Linked DNA regions of Homo sapiens: region 1 is linked to region 2. Evidence: promoter capture Hi-C in 16 types of primary human blood cells and fetal thymus (Javierre and others, 2016). All regions are on one chromosome and are shown on one strand. The core of a region is centred on a gene start or on the middle of the fragment in contact, and the rest is flanking DNA. Distances in the headings are between cores, read along the strand shown.

What was found. Contacts are between HindIII fragments. The CHiCAGO score rates a contact against its expected background, and 5 or more counts as called.
Region 1: a contact is called between a fragment that was not itself captured here and the fragment with the promoter of PICALM in region 2, in 1 of 17 cell types (non-activated CD4 T cells). The highest score is 5.6, in non-activated CD4 T cells.

Annotation. Positions count from the first base shown.
Region 1 is chr11:87,029,346-87,036,265 of GRCh38, reverse strand. All of the region lies in intron 1 of LOC105369422 (a long non-coding RNA gene), which reads left to right. Among named protein-coding and RNA genes, the nearest start is that of TMEM135, 5.1 kb to the left of the region's middle. The HindIII fragment of the contact is 2,330 bases long and covers 106-2,435 here.
Region 2 is chr11:86,066,287-86,073,243 of GRCh38, reverse strand. It overlaps PICALM (phosphatidylinositol binding clathrin assembly protein), which reads left to right and starts at 4,160. Exons shown (of 20, transcript NM_007166.4): 1 at 4,160-4,593. The coding sequence starts at 4,464. It overlaps LOC124902731 (a long non-coding RNA gene), which reads right to left and starts at 3,320. Exons shown (of 2, transcript XR_007062823.1): 1 at 1,547-3,320; 2 at 743-926. RefSeq lists silencers at 3,646-3,915, 4,066-4,235, 4,376-4,425, 4,496-4,545 and enhancers at 3,171-4,370, 4,110-4,811, 4,812-5,514. The HindIII fragment of the contact is 7,123 bases long and covers 1-5,316 here.

The DNA of each region.
Region 1 (6,920 bases), core at 21-2,520, 970 kb before region 2:
ACGGGGGGGCGGGGGCGGGGAGAAAAGGGCATACTTCCTGTTTTTAAAAAAACTTCCCAGAAGATCCATACAAACTACTACAACTTACGTTCCTTGGACAAAGCTTAATCACATGGCCACACTTCATTGCAAGAGAGGATGGTGAATACAATCTTTTTTAATTAATGGGACAAATGCCCAGCTAACATTTGAGGTTTTATTACTGAGCAAAATGGAAAAAACAGATATTAGAGGCAACTAGCAGTGTCTGCCATAGTTCTATGTCTCTGGCTACCCAAATATCCGGGCACACCATTCTTTCTACAGATAGACATACCTTCCCTTTTCCAAGGGAGACAACCTAAAATTCCATGCAGTTGCTGAATCCTAGCCAAAGTCCAGAATATTCCTCAGGACCAGATGCAGATCTCATGATAAAGTTATCATCCGCCTCAACACATCCAATATACAATGGTAGAATAGGAACAAGATAATCACAATTTTTTTCAAATCTCCAATTCAGAAACTAAGAAGATCAAAAACACAGCATAAACTTATCCAAAAAATTACAGAAATAGCAGTGCAGGCTTATTTTTTTTCAATAATCCATTCCTGAATATCTGTGATCCTTTCACAAGAAAATGCTGAATAGGAACTTAGTTTTAAATGGGAAAAAATAAAATGCATTACATATCAACCAAAAAATTCTTAACAAGTATTTAAAACATAGTATCAAATATTAACAAAAAATGATCATGTTAAGATGTACAATACTATACAAATAACATCTTATTCACCAAACAATTAATACGAGCTGGGCACGGTGGCTGATACCTATAATCCCAACACTTTGGGAGGCTGAGCTTGGTGGATCACCTGAGGTCATAAGTTCAAGACCAGCCTGGCCTATGGTGAAACTCCATCTCTACTAAAAATACAAAAAGTAGCCAGACATGGTGGTGGACACCTGTAATCCCAGCTACTCAGGAGGCTGAGGCAGGAGAATCACTTGAACCTGGGAGGCGGAGGTTGCAGTGAGCCGAGATGGTGCCACTACACTCCAGCCTGGGCAACAGAACAAGACTCCGTCTCAAAAAAAAAAAAATTTTTAATATGATTGTTAACTCTCAGTTGCTTCTGAATGTAATAGCACAATATAGTTTTCATGCCTGATAATAAACAATATGTTTACTATGTGGCCCAGCAATTACACATTAATAAATAAGGAAATTTTAAAATTACAATTAAAACCAGGTGGTTTCTTTTAGTTAACTGTTTTTTGTTTGTTTTGAGACATGGTCTCACTCTGCTACCCAGGCTGAAGTGCAGTGGCGCAATCACAGCTCACAGCAGCCTATATCCCCTGGGCTCAGGAGATCCTCCTGCCTCAGCCTCCTGAGTAGCTGGGACCACAGGTACGCCACCACACCTGGCTAATGTTTTTAAATTATTTGTAGGGTCTCCCTGTGTTACCCAGACTGCTCTTGAACTCCTGGGCTCAAGCTGTCCACCCACCTCAGCCTCCCAAACTGCTGGGATTACAGGTGTGCACCAACACACCTGGTCCTAATTAACTGTTAAATGGAGACTTGAAGCATAAAGAAATTTGAGAAAAAGGGGATGGTGCCAAAGGGGACAATGCTGATGAGCTGGGTGGCAAAGGGGTGATTTCAGGGAAACTCCCAAGTTCAAAAGAAAGGATACTCTATCTTTTCTAGTGCTGCTATGGAGATTCCAAAACAGGAAGGCATTGATAAATCCTCAGGGGAGATGATCTGTGCTTTAGGATGCAAAAAAAATTGCAAAATGGAGCAGTATGCAGTTAAACCAGTAGCTTACATTTGTAAATTTCTTTATATGGTATTATAAGATATAGCAGGCTGTTTTTTAAAAGAAAGCCTTCTCTTCATGCCACCATTAAGTTTAAAGATAATGTTAAACATTGCATCTGCATGGGTCATTTATTCTTTTAGGTTGGCTATGACAGTGGCTTGATTGGATACTTTCTGGGGGCTTCATTGTTTCTTCTTTTTCATTAAAAAAACGCAGGGAGGGCTTTAGGGTTCATCAACAAGGTGAAGCAAAGAGTTTCTCCAAAGAAGGTGCACAGTGGATGAAGAAAACTAATCTGGCAATTTATGATGGAATTCAAAGGCTTTGAAGAAACGCCAAGATGAAAATTGTTGCCCCTTTCTTTGTGATGGAAGAATGAAAAAAAAAAAAAAAACACAAAGTTGTTGCTCTTGTAGGATTCTAGTTTTGAAGATGTCAACGAAAAAGAATGGAAGAGCTCTTAAGATCTAATGCAGAGGATTTAACGACACTAATCTAGTTTAGATCTACATGCAGTCATTGTAGAAATAATTATCAGGCACAAGTACAATGGCAAAGTACGGCAAACTCGAAGTATGACACTGTAGTAGCTCTTGATTCCAGCAACAGTCAGTAACCAAGCTTTTCACAAAGCTACATATGATTCTGATTTTCTTTTCTTTTCTTTTCTTTTGAGACGGAGTCTTGCTGTGTCACCCAAGCTGGAGTGCAATGGGACGATCTCGGCTCACTGCAAACTCCGCCTCCTGGGCTCAAGTGATTCTTCTGCCTCACTAGCTGAGATTAGTGGCACCCACCACCACACCCGGCTAATTTCTGTATTTTTAGTAGAGACGGGGTTTCACCATGTAGTCCAGGCTGGTCCCAAACTCCCTGACCTTAGGTAATTCACCTGCCTCAGCCTCCCAAAGTGCTGGGATTACAGACATGAGCCACCATGCCCAGCCATAATTCTAATTTTCTACTAATTTTTGTTGCAACATAACTTCAGGTTTTTCCTTACGTCATTTTATTTAAAATATTGAGTTTCTAATATGTAAATATAAATTTTAATATTCAAATCTGGAGTATTAAAAGATACATATGCCCTTTCAGTCCAAGTAGGCAGTGTGTCTGCCAATACAATTCTCTTTAAGATTTTGGGGACTTCATATATATCAAATTATAATCCACTCCAATAGAAAAAAAAGCCACACTCACAAACCTCTGAGACAAACACTTTCCGTCTTGGGCTGAGAGTAAGAAAGCTGATGGAAAACACCCTTATACACTTAGAAGTGCTTTTGTCTAGCTGAAATGGTCTAGGTAAAATGGCTTTAAATCTTTGTACAGTCTTTACAAAAAATCTAAATAGCTGCACCCTGGATTGTACCTTCCCCTTAAGGCAATGCCTTAGTTGTTTCACCATCTGGAGAGGCTGGAAGTGAAAAGCAGTTTTATTTTTGAACCCAAAGTTCCCAGACTGTGTATATTTTCTCTAAATTTTGCTTAAAAATGAAATTGTTCCTTTTATATCTCACCTCTCTACATCTTATTCCACATAGGTTTTTTTTTTTTAATCAGTTGGCATTTTCAACAGTCTGTCTGGAAATTTCCTTAACTGCAAATACACCAGTTTGTTAGATATATTTTCTATTTTCTGCATTTCAGCATGCAACAGTGTTGCCAAACTTTCTGCCACTGCATAACAGGGATCCCTTTTTCTCCAGCCTTTCCTAACAGTTTCCTCCCTTCAAGCCTTCAAAGATTGTAGAAAAAACTCTCAAGTGGCCTTACAAAATATTCAGGTACATACACTGTCTAGAATTCTCAGCATCTATATTAGTTTGATGTTACCAGTACTTGGAAGCTACAGCTAAGGACACCATTCTCTCCAAACCCCTACCACTCCAACCACAGAATGTAAAAGTAAAAGATACTTTTGGAGGCTGAGGTGGGAGGATCACGAGGTCGGGAGATCGAGACCATCCTGGCTAACACAGTGAAACCCTGTCTCTACTAAAAATACAAAACAAATTAGCCGGGCATGGTGGCAGGCGCCTGTAGTCCCAGCTACTTGGGAGGCTGAGGCAGGAGAATGGCGTGAACCCAGGAAGCGGAGCTTGCAGTGAGCCGAGATGGTGCCACTGCACTCCAGCCTGGACAACAGAGCAAGACTCCATCTCAAATAAATAAATAAATAAATAAATAAATAATAAAAAAGTAAAAGATTTATGATTATTCTTTGAGAGGAAAAACACAAAATCAACATGTAGATGTGTACAAGGAATGCTTTAGAGGCCAGCCACATCTCTCTAAAAACAGTAGACTTATGCAATAACATATCTGTAGAAGACAAGTGTATTGATAGAATTGGAAGAAAAAAAAACGAGGAGCCCCCTGAGGCAATTCAGGTGCATGCCTGGGAATGAGAACTGCAGCCCAGGGACCTCAGGAATTAACTATGAAATGGGATGCATAGCTTCTCCTGGACAGATGTCATTAAATAACTGACTCATCTAACTAATGTTTTCTTTCTGAGAATAAAACAAACTTTTATTACAGTTTGGCTTCCCATGCAGGTCTGTCTTGAGAGACAGAATGGTTATATATTAGGTAACAGATATCCTAGTTTGTATGACAGGTTTTAATTTTCTATTGTTATTTAATAAATTGGCAGCTTGATTTATGCACTCATTTATAAGCTTGTTTTATATCACTTAGCCTGAGAAAGGAAGAGCCTCCCTGATATGCTTCCAAAGCCAGGTTTTTTACCCTGGTTGTTTGTGGCAATAAATTCTGTATTAGCCAAGAATGGTTAGGCTATGCCGAGATACCACATACACTCTAAATCTCAGAGAATTTAAAATAAGAAAGATTTATTTTGTGTTTACACAAACTCCAAAGCAGACTGGCCAGTTCTTCAGGGCAAGGGCAACCAGTGATTCAGGAATATAGCCTCTTCCATCTGCACTGGGCCTTCGTCAGTGGTCACTTTTTTTAATTTTTTCCTTGCTTCTTTGATTTTTCATGTGTGCATAATTTTTAGTTCTTTTGCATAGCAGCATGCACAAAATTTAAGTGTACAGCTTGATGAATTTTTAAATTTGCCTTTACTGAGACTACTATTTGCCCTGAGACTGCTATGCAGATTAAAAAAAAGTATTTCCATCACCCCAGAAGGCTCTTTAGTGCCCCTTCCCAGTAAATACACCTGCAAACAGAGGTAACCACTATTCTCACTTCTAGCATCATAGCTTCATTTTGCCTGTTCCTAAAGCTTATAGTAACAAATGCATACGTTGAATATTTTTTGTGTCTGGCTTCCTTCACTCAAGATCTTATGCATGTTGTCGTATGTAGCTATAGTTCATTCATTTTTATTGCTATATTGGGTCTATTGTATGAATATAGCACAATTTTTTCATTTGAGGACATTTGTGTTGTTGCATGTTTGAACCTACTATGAATTACCCAGCAAGGGACATTCTTTTACTTGACTTTTGTAGACGTATGCTTTTGTTTTTCTTGAGCATATACCTAAGAGTAGATGTGCTACGTCATGGGGCCAGCATACATTTAACTTTCGCAGATACCAATCACTGCTTTCACTTTTAAGGGCCAGACCTGGAAGTGGTTTACATCACTTCTGCTTACATCCCACTTCCAGAACTTAGTCACATGTCCCCAACCTAACCACAAAGGAGGATGGAAAACGTAGTCTTTCCATGTAACCAGGAAAGGAAAATGAAATGAGATTTTGTTAAGCATTTTGCGCCATCTCTGTCACAAATATCAACTGCAGGGTCAGGCTACCTGTAAGACAACCAGCTAACCTCCAATGATTCTCTTCCATCTTTGTGAACTGTATGACTCTCTTTTCTTAAATGAATATATGTGCAATAGTATAGCTTACTATAAATGAACTAATGCAAACTGATCATCACATAATATATATATAATATATATTATATATATGTTATATATATTATATATATATATATATATTTTTTTTTTTTTTGAGATGGAGTCTCACTCTGTTGCCCATGCTGGAGTGCATTGGCACAATCTCAGCTCACTGCAAGCTCTGCCTCCCGGGTTCATGCCATTCTCCTGCCCCAGCCTCCTGAGTAGCTGGGACTACAGGCACACGCCACCACGCCCAGCTAATTTTTTGTATTTCTAGTAGAGATGGGGTTTCAGCCCGTTAGCCAGGATGGTCTCGATCTCCTGACTTTGTGATCTGCCCACCTCTGCCTCCCAAAGTGCTGGGATTACAGGCGTGAGCCACCACACCTGGCAGTTTTATATTTTTAACAAAATTCCAGTCATCATAATGCCCCTTAAGGACAAGATCTATTTCTGACACATCTTTATTATCTTCTGTACCACATAGCACAGTGCCTTGTACACAGAACATGTTTAATATTTAATAAAAGAAGTCTTGGTGGGAGAGAAATTTGAAAGCACTGTACTCTTGTTAAGGCCGGTTGTGGCTCATGCTTGTAATCCCAGCACTTTAGGAGGCCGAGGCGGGTGGATCACCTGAGGTCAGGAGTTCAAGACCAGCCTAGCCAACATGGCAAAACCCCGACTCTGCTGAAAAAATACAAAAATTAGCCGGGTGTGGTGGCACACACCTCAGGAGGCTGAGGCAGGAGAATCGCTTGAACCCAGGAGGCGGAGGTTGCAGTGAGCAGAGATCGCGCCACTGCACTCCAGCCTGGGCAACAGAGGGAGACTCTGTCTCAAAAAAAAAGAAAAAAGAAGAGTTAGTTACTTTGTATTCTGCCTACCATTCACTCAGATTGCAACATTTGCCCCTAAGCACAGAGCTTACCCCTTTCCTTATCAGAAGCCTCTGCCAAACATAGGAACAATGTCTTATTTGTTGACCATATTGTAACTCTCAATTACTCATTCTGGGATTTGCTATGTCCTCAGTGTTCTTATTGCTATGCTGTGTGCCTGTTTTTGATGGTGAGGCGCCTCTTTCTTTTCACAATTCCTTTGAAAATCCCTGCATGACATGCAGTACCAGCATTTTATTTTACTTTTGTGAAGGTTCTACTGCTTTTTTTAAACAATACTTTTTTTTTCTTGAAACTCAAATACTTAAAACAACTGCA
Region 2 (6,957 bases), core at 2,911-5,410:
AAGACTTGGCCGGGCACGATGGCTCACGCCTGTAATCCCAGCACTTTGGGAGGCTGAGGTGGGCGCATCACAAGGACAGGAGATCGAGACCATCCTGGCTAACACAGTGAAACCCCGTCTCTACTAAAAGTACAAAAAATTAGCCAGGCGTGGTGGCAGGCGCCTGTAGTCCCAGCTACTCAGGAGGCTGAGGCAGGAGAATGGCGTGAACCCAGGAGGTGGAGCTTGCAGTGAGCCGAGATCATGCCACTGCACTTTAGCCTGGGCAAGAGAGCAAGACTGCCTCAAAAAAAAAAAAAAAAAAATTTCCAAGACTTGTCTGTTTTCTTGTATTGGATGGGCACGATACTTGGACATGATACTTTTTGAAATTATTGTTATGAGCATTACATTTTTAAAATGTAGTGTTTTTAGCACATAGGAGGCAATAAAAAAAACCTGCTCCTTCTCCGAACACTCCCTGCCTCTCTACAACATACCTTTTAGTTGGAAGAGCCTAGGAAATACCTAGGAAATGTGTTATTCAAGTTTTTTCCTTCTGTTTTTGGTCTGCTCCTTTACAATCAAAGCAAAGAGGCCTTCAAGTTGAGAACTAACTAGTTCCCAAAGGACTGATGGGTTCACTGTAAATAGTGTTTGGCACTTAGAACCTTTATGCCTGACACACAGTTCAACACATATTTTTTGAAAGAGTAAATTAATTAACAAGGTACTGAATAAGGATGATGCTCCAACCAGATAATTATGGGATGGACATGCTTTATTTATTTTTAGAAACAGTGTCTTGCTCTGTCATCCAGGCTGGAATGCGGTGGTAGGATCATAATTCACTGCAGGCTTAAACTCCTGGGCTCAAGGGATCCTCCTGCTTCAGCCTCCCAAGTAGCTATGACTATAGGCTTATGCCTCCATGCCCAGTAGACATGCTAAATGTGTGAAAAAGTGGGCAGATTTTATCAAATGAGAGGTTTGGAGTGATGGTGTGTCCGAATGCGTGATTTCAAAGCGTTCTCATTCATTCGTTCAATCACCATCTACTGTGTATCTACCTTGCATCAACCATAATACTAGCATGGATGTATCTCTGCACCCCCATGTTAGTGCAATTAGTCAATCACAATAATAATTAGAGAACAGAAGGATATATGAGTAACAAAAGGAAATCAGTAACTGCTTATTGGTATGTGAAACAGCATGACATCCAAGTATGTCAAGTAGTGTGATACTGTCTGGAGTGCATTTAAAGGAATCAGAAGAGATGAGGCTCAACAAGTAGTAGGTAGGTAGGGGAATTTAGAGGAATGGGAAGAGACAAGGCTCAACAGGTTTAGGTGGCCATGTGAGTTGGCACATGTGGAACTTCAGGTAAGATATTTCTTAAATAGACTGAAGAAACTGACACAGAGAAAACTTAAGTATATAAGATAAAGTAGGTCAGTAATGCCTATTCTTAGTTCTAATTCCCCATCTTCTTCTAAATTGGTCCATGTATTTCATTTCACAATTACACATAAACCTCTACAATGGTCACTGATTATTTACATACTTAGAAACTTCTAAAATGAGGCCAGATCATGAAGAACCATGTATGCCAGGTTGAGAGTTCTTAATTTCATCCTTTAGGGTAGCGATGGGGGAGTTACTGGAAGATTTTAATGCAAAGAAAAGACAATCACATTTTGGTTTCAGAAGGATCTGAATTGGAGAGTCAGGGTATAAAAGACAGAGAATCAGCTAAGAAGTTACTAAAACAGTCTAGTATAACAGAGATCATAAAGGCTGGAACTAAGGCAACAGAAGTGGGGTTAGAGATGGGATGTGTTTGAGAGATAAAAGTAGATTAGGCTTGATGAGGGAAATAAGACAGAAGGAGAACTCAGAATCACAGCTTTCTGAGCGGAGCTTCTGGACATGTGGTGAGGCCATTAACGGATATAGGGAACAGTATGGATTAAAGATGTAGGATGCTGGGCAAGGGCAAGAGAAGTTCAGTATTGGCCATGGTGAGTTGGCATCTGTGGAACTTCAGGTAGAGATATTTCCTGAATAGACCAAGGAAACTGACACAGAAAACTTAAGCATATAAGACAACATAGGTCAGTAATGTCTACCCTTAGAACAATTCCCCATCTTCTTTTAAATTTCTCCATATATTTCAGTTCACAACCACACATAAACCTCTTCAATGATTACTGATTATTTACATAGTTAGAAATTCTACTATGTATACTTGGAAAAAAATAAAATATTTCTAACAGCAGCTTGTTTGTTAATAGGGTAAACATGTCAACAATTATTGTCACAAAAGTGGTCTGAAAGAACCTCTTTGGTAAAAGTAATAGTGTAATACTTTCCTGTTATGTACTTAGGAATGACTGGCATTTTCCCTAAGGATAAAATATTCAGCTGTTGATAGCTAGACCATGTTAGTGTTGACCTCAGATTGGGGTTTACCAATGCAGAGGCTCAGGCCAATCAGTAACTTATACAGTGGAACCCATAGACCAGTAGCAATGATGGCTGATAACATGTCTTGAGAATTTGGTAATTCCACTGCCCAGTGGACGTGGGGCAGCAAACTGGGCACCAAACCACAGATGGATTGCAGTACACTGAAGGAATTCATTATAGTTTTGTGAAATTGGAGGCTGGCTTGACAAAGATGAAGCCTGCTGGGATTAAAAACTTGTGTGTTCTTGGCAAGAGCATGTTGCTGCAGAATTTCACCAGCCATAGTGGGGAAAAAAGAGGGGTGAGGGGGCGTGGGGAAAATGGGAGACCACAAAATTCCTGATATGATACATAAAATGTTAAATATCTATCAGCTTTGCATCCTTTGAGAGTCACCAGATTGAAGCACAGTATTTTGGATTTGGCTGGCAGATGGTGTACACAGACTTTCTGAGAATGTTAGCATTTCATTTGAAACTAGCAAGATTACATGTGACTATCATGGTAACTTAGCACTCACATATTTTTCAACTTATCCCTAACCCTGGGTTGAATGTAGAGGCTCTAATAACATATAAAAGGCTTTGTTAATGTATGGTCTGGGTCTCATTGAATAGTATTTCAGGATGTAATACTTCTTTTAAAATGTCCACAGGGCAGTGTCAACGTCTTTCCATGGAAATCTGGCTCACCCAATAAGAGAAAAGAGGCCAAAGGTAAGAAAGACTAAACCAGGGGAGATGGCAGGCAGTGATGTCTGGACTGTTTGAATGGGACTTCTCCATTTACCGCCCCTCTCACTTCCTTCTATGGTCTGGACCTTTAATCACCACAGCAGTCAGCCATGTAGGGTCAAGCTAATCGCTGTTGACATCATCCTACTACTTCCCTTTTCAAATTCCAGTGAAGCTATGTGTTTCCTGTCCTATTCCACACCCTAGAGAATGAATACCGGCCAGCTAGTATCTAAATTTAGAATGGCAGCAACGTGTCGGGTTTTCGGAGTAGAGATAAACAAAACCAGGTGACATTTCCAAGCCTCTCAAGGAAAGGGGGGAAAAAACCTTTCTGGGGTAAGTAAATAAGGAGAGCTTCAATAGTTCCATGGTAGAGAGAGGCCTGCTGGAAGGTTCAGAAAATAGGCCGTTTGGAACCTTCTCCTTTAAGCCAGGAGGGCGGCTTTGGGAGGCGTCTTGAAATACATTCTTGACTCTGCTGGGAAAGCTCGGGGAGCCAGAGGCCTAATACCCCCCACTTCAGGGGAAGCTGTGAAGGCAGCTGCACCTCCTTTGTCAAGCTGTTGGTTTCAACCACAGACACGAGGACACACTTGAGGTGGGGGGATAAGGGGAGAAGCCTGCCGCCCCGCCCCACCCCCGCCAGCACACCGCCCTCGCCATTCCTCTCCCGCCCCGCCCCGCCCGGCGTCTGTGACCCCGCGGGCCGAGCCTCAGGCGACCTGTTGGCAGGGAGAGTCACGTGATGCGCCGGCTGTGCACTCCCCTCGGGCGGGCCTCCTGTTGCGCCCGCCTGGCGAGTTCCATCACGTAACGCGCGGGCGCCGCCCAGCTCTTCCCTCGCTGAGCGAGGGAGGGCGGGCGTCGAAGAGGAAAGGGAAGGGGAAAGGGGCGGGAGAAGGGAGGAGGGGCGGTGTCCGAGTCACGTGACCCGGGGCAGCCCGGAAAGCTCCGAGGAGGAGCCTGGCGCCGCCATTTTCCTGCAGCTGCCTGTTCCTCTTACCCTGCCCGGCTCCAGCTGACCCGGGAAGGGGTGGGCTGAACTGAGGCGGGGGCAAGGGAGTGCCCGACATCTTGTCCGACTCCGCGGGTGACACGAGCCGGTTCTCTCTGGACTGGTGGCAGCGCGCGGCCCCGAACCGCGCCCCAGGCCGGCAGGCGGGGAAGGAGCCGGTGGGGGTAGGGGGTGCGGTGGGGGGTGGGGACCCTCCGGCTCTTGGGGGTCCCAGTCCCCGCCGGCTGCTGAGCGGGTGGGGTGGTGGAGGAGCTGCAGAGATGTCCGGCCAGAGCCTGACGGACCGAATCACTGCCGCCCAGCACAGTGTCACCGGCTCTGCCGTATCCAAGACAGTATGCAAGGCCACGACCCACGAGATCATGGGGCCCAAGAAAAAGCACCTGGACTGTGAGTGAAGCCGACCGCGGCCCCCGCTCCCCGGCGCCCGCGCGACCCGCGCGCGTCCTTCTCTCTCTCTCTTGTCTTTCACCCTTCTACTGCCTCTTCCCTCCCTGCGTCTTCTCTGGCACGGCCGGTCCTGTGCCCGTTGAGCTGTGTTCTTTTGCTTCCATCACACCTGCCTTCACGGCCTCCGCTCCCCGTCTCAAAATCTGACAAGCCACTCCCCTCCCTATTCCTAGGGGACCCTCGTCTCCCTGCCCGGTGCGCTACCACACCCCATCATACCCAACCAACTTGCTTCCCCACCTGGCTTCTCACCCCCTACCCGTCTCCACTGCAGCCTTCTGCTCTTCCTTCCCACCCGTCCGGTGCCGCCTCGTCGCCCTCGTCTGAGCGTCTCCAAGCCCCATTGTTTCTTCATCAGCCTCCTTCGGGTTTCAGTAAACGCCTGGTTCCTTGCATCCAGATCCTTGTTATCCCTCCGGGCTGCCTCCCTGGAAGGGATCCCCCACTTCCTTTGCTCCACTAGCTGCTTCGCCCATCCCTTCCTGGCTTTCTGTTCCACCTTCCCTCCTGCTTTTGGGTTACCTTTTCATCGCCTCTATAGTAGCTTCAGTGTAGTTTCTTCGACTCATTTTAAATACCATACCCAGTTACCCGACTTTTATTTCAGATTACCTTCTTTGTGGGAGTGAAAGTAAAAGGATTCAATTTGGTGTAGGGAAAGCTTTCTGGAAAGTTGGGATTTTTATTTGCCTCTGGTGGAATTTAATCGTTGTGTTGTCCATACTTTTGACTGGGGTGAGTTTGTGACTGTCAGCTCTGCCCCCCAGCTTTTCACATGGGGATATGGAAAAAGGCATTTTGCTGATACTCTTATCAGTTCCTGGAACTGTTAATTCTGGCGGCTTGAATTCAGAAGCTTGAGTGTTAAGCGTAGACTGTTGGAATTCCAAATGGATTAATAAATTTACTTACAAATAACATACATCCCTTAAAAAAATTGGCAAAATGATGTTTGATGATGCTTGAGTTTGGATGTTTTAATTATGCCAGTTACCTTTTGAGGAACTAGCTTTAGCTTCTCTTACACGACATAGTATTCGTCCATTCGCTAACGTAGATACAATTAGTAGAGCTAACTCCTCGTAACTTTTTTCTAACCTGGAAGTCACCTGTAATACCCTCCTTTTTCTTTGCGCTCTTTTACCCCAGGGTACAAAGCTCATTGGATCACTCAAGCCAATGGAGCTTAGACCTGAAACTTTTCAGGGAAAAATAGGGCAATAGTCACGATAAGTAAGTTCCCTTTTTAAATGACTGGACACATTAGTCTGACTGACTTTCATCATACATGAAAGTTACTTTGTTTTACTGTTTGAAGCAAGAGTGAGCATGCCCTGAAAGATAATTCACTGTCTGGAAGCCTGTTTTGATTTCTCATTTGGACTTTGGCCGTAAAGTTTGCACTTTAAAAAAAATGTACGAAATGTAGATTCTTCCAAGTTACTGTGCTCATGAATGCTGTTAGAACAAGTTTTTGCTACACAGAAGCCTATTATTCTTTGTGATTGTTCCTCCACTGTGGAAAAAAGTTTTAAATAAAAAAGCATTAGTGCTTGATTCTTTCAGATATGCATGCAGGCTGCTTTTAAACTCTCAGTCCTTGCTTGTCTTAGAGAATGGAGAATATGTTTAAATGGTGACACTCTTATGAACAGAAAACTTTTTAAAATGCATCGTAAAGCCATATGTGATTTTTTGATTATCTGATACGTGTAGTAGACGTTTCTGCTATTTACGGCTCTTCAAATACTACTTGGTTTGCCCTACCAAATCTTACAGTTTGTCCTGACACTGTGTTAATTCTTTTGTTAGTTGCTTTTGGTTTTTTTTTGTTTTTTTTTTTTGTATGGGAGTATGAAGAAACTAGTTGTGACTGTGTGAACTATTTTCCTCTTTCCTCATTCAAAATAAGAATCGATAAGGCTTTTAAAAGTTTTTTTTGTAAAGGTTTGTGTCTTATTTCAAATGTAGCAGTGGTTCTTTTAAAGCATTGTCAAAAAGAGGAGAAAATAGGTAGGGTTAGAAGAGTGCTATTTGCATGTTGTTTCATAAATGTTATTAGCTATTTCTCTTGTTATAGCCACTACTGCAGATAGATGGTAACTGGGATTAGGTTTGGAGGATAATCTTGCATTTGTCGTTCTTTTTCTCTACCACTTCTGTGTTTACAAGCTCCCACGTTTTTGGAACTTGAATATACCTGGTAGTATTTGATTTAAAAATATATGTGTCGTTAATGTGCTTCTGTTTCTTTTCAATGAGGTTTTAAAATACAGGGATACTATTTTCCCTACATTGTTGATT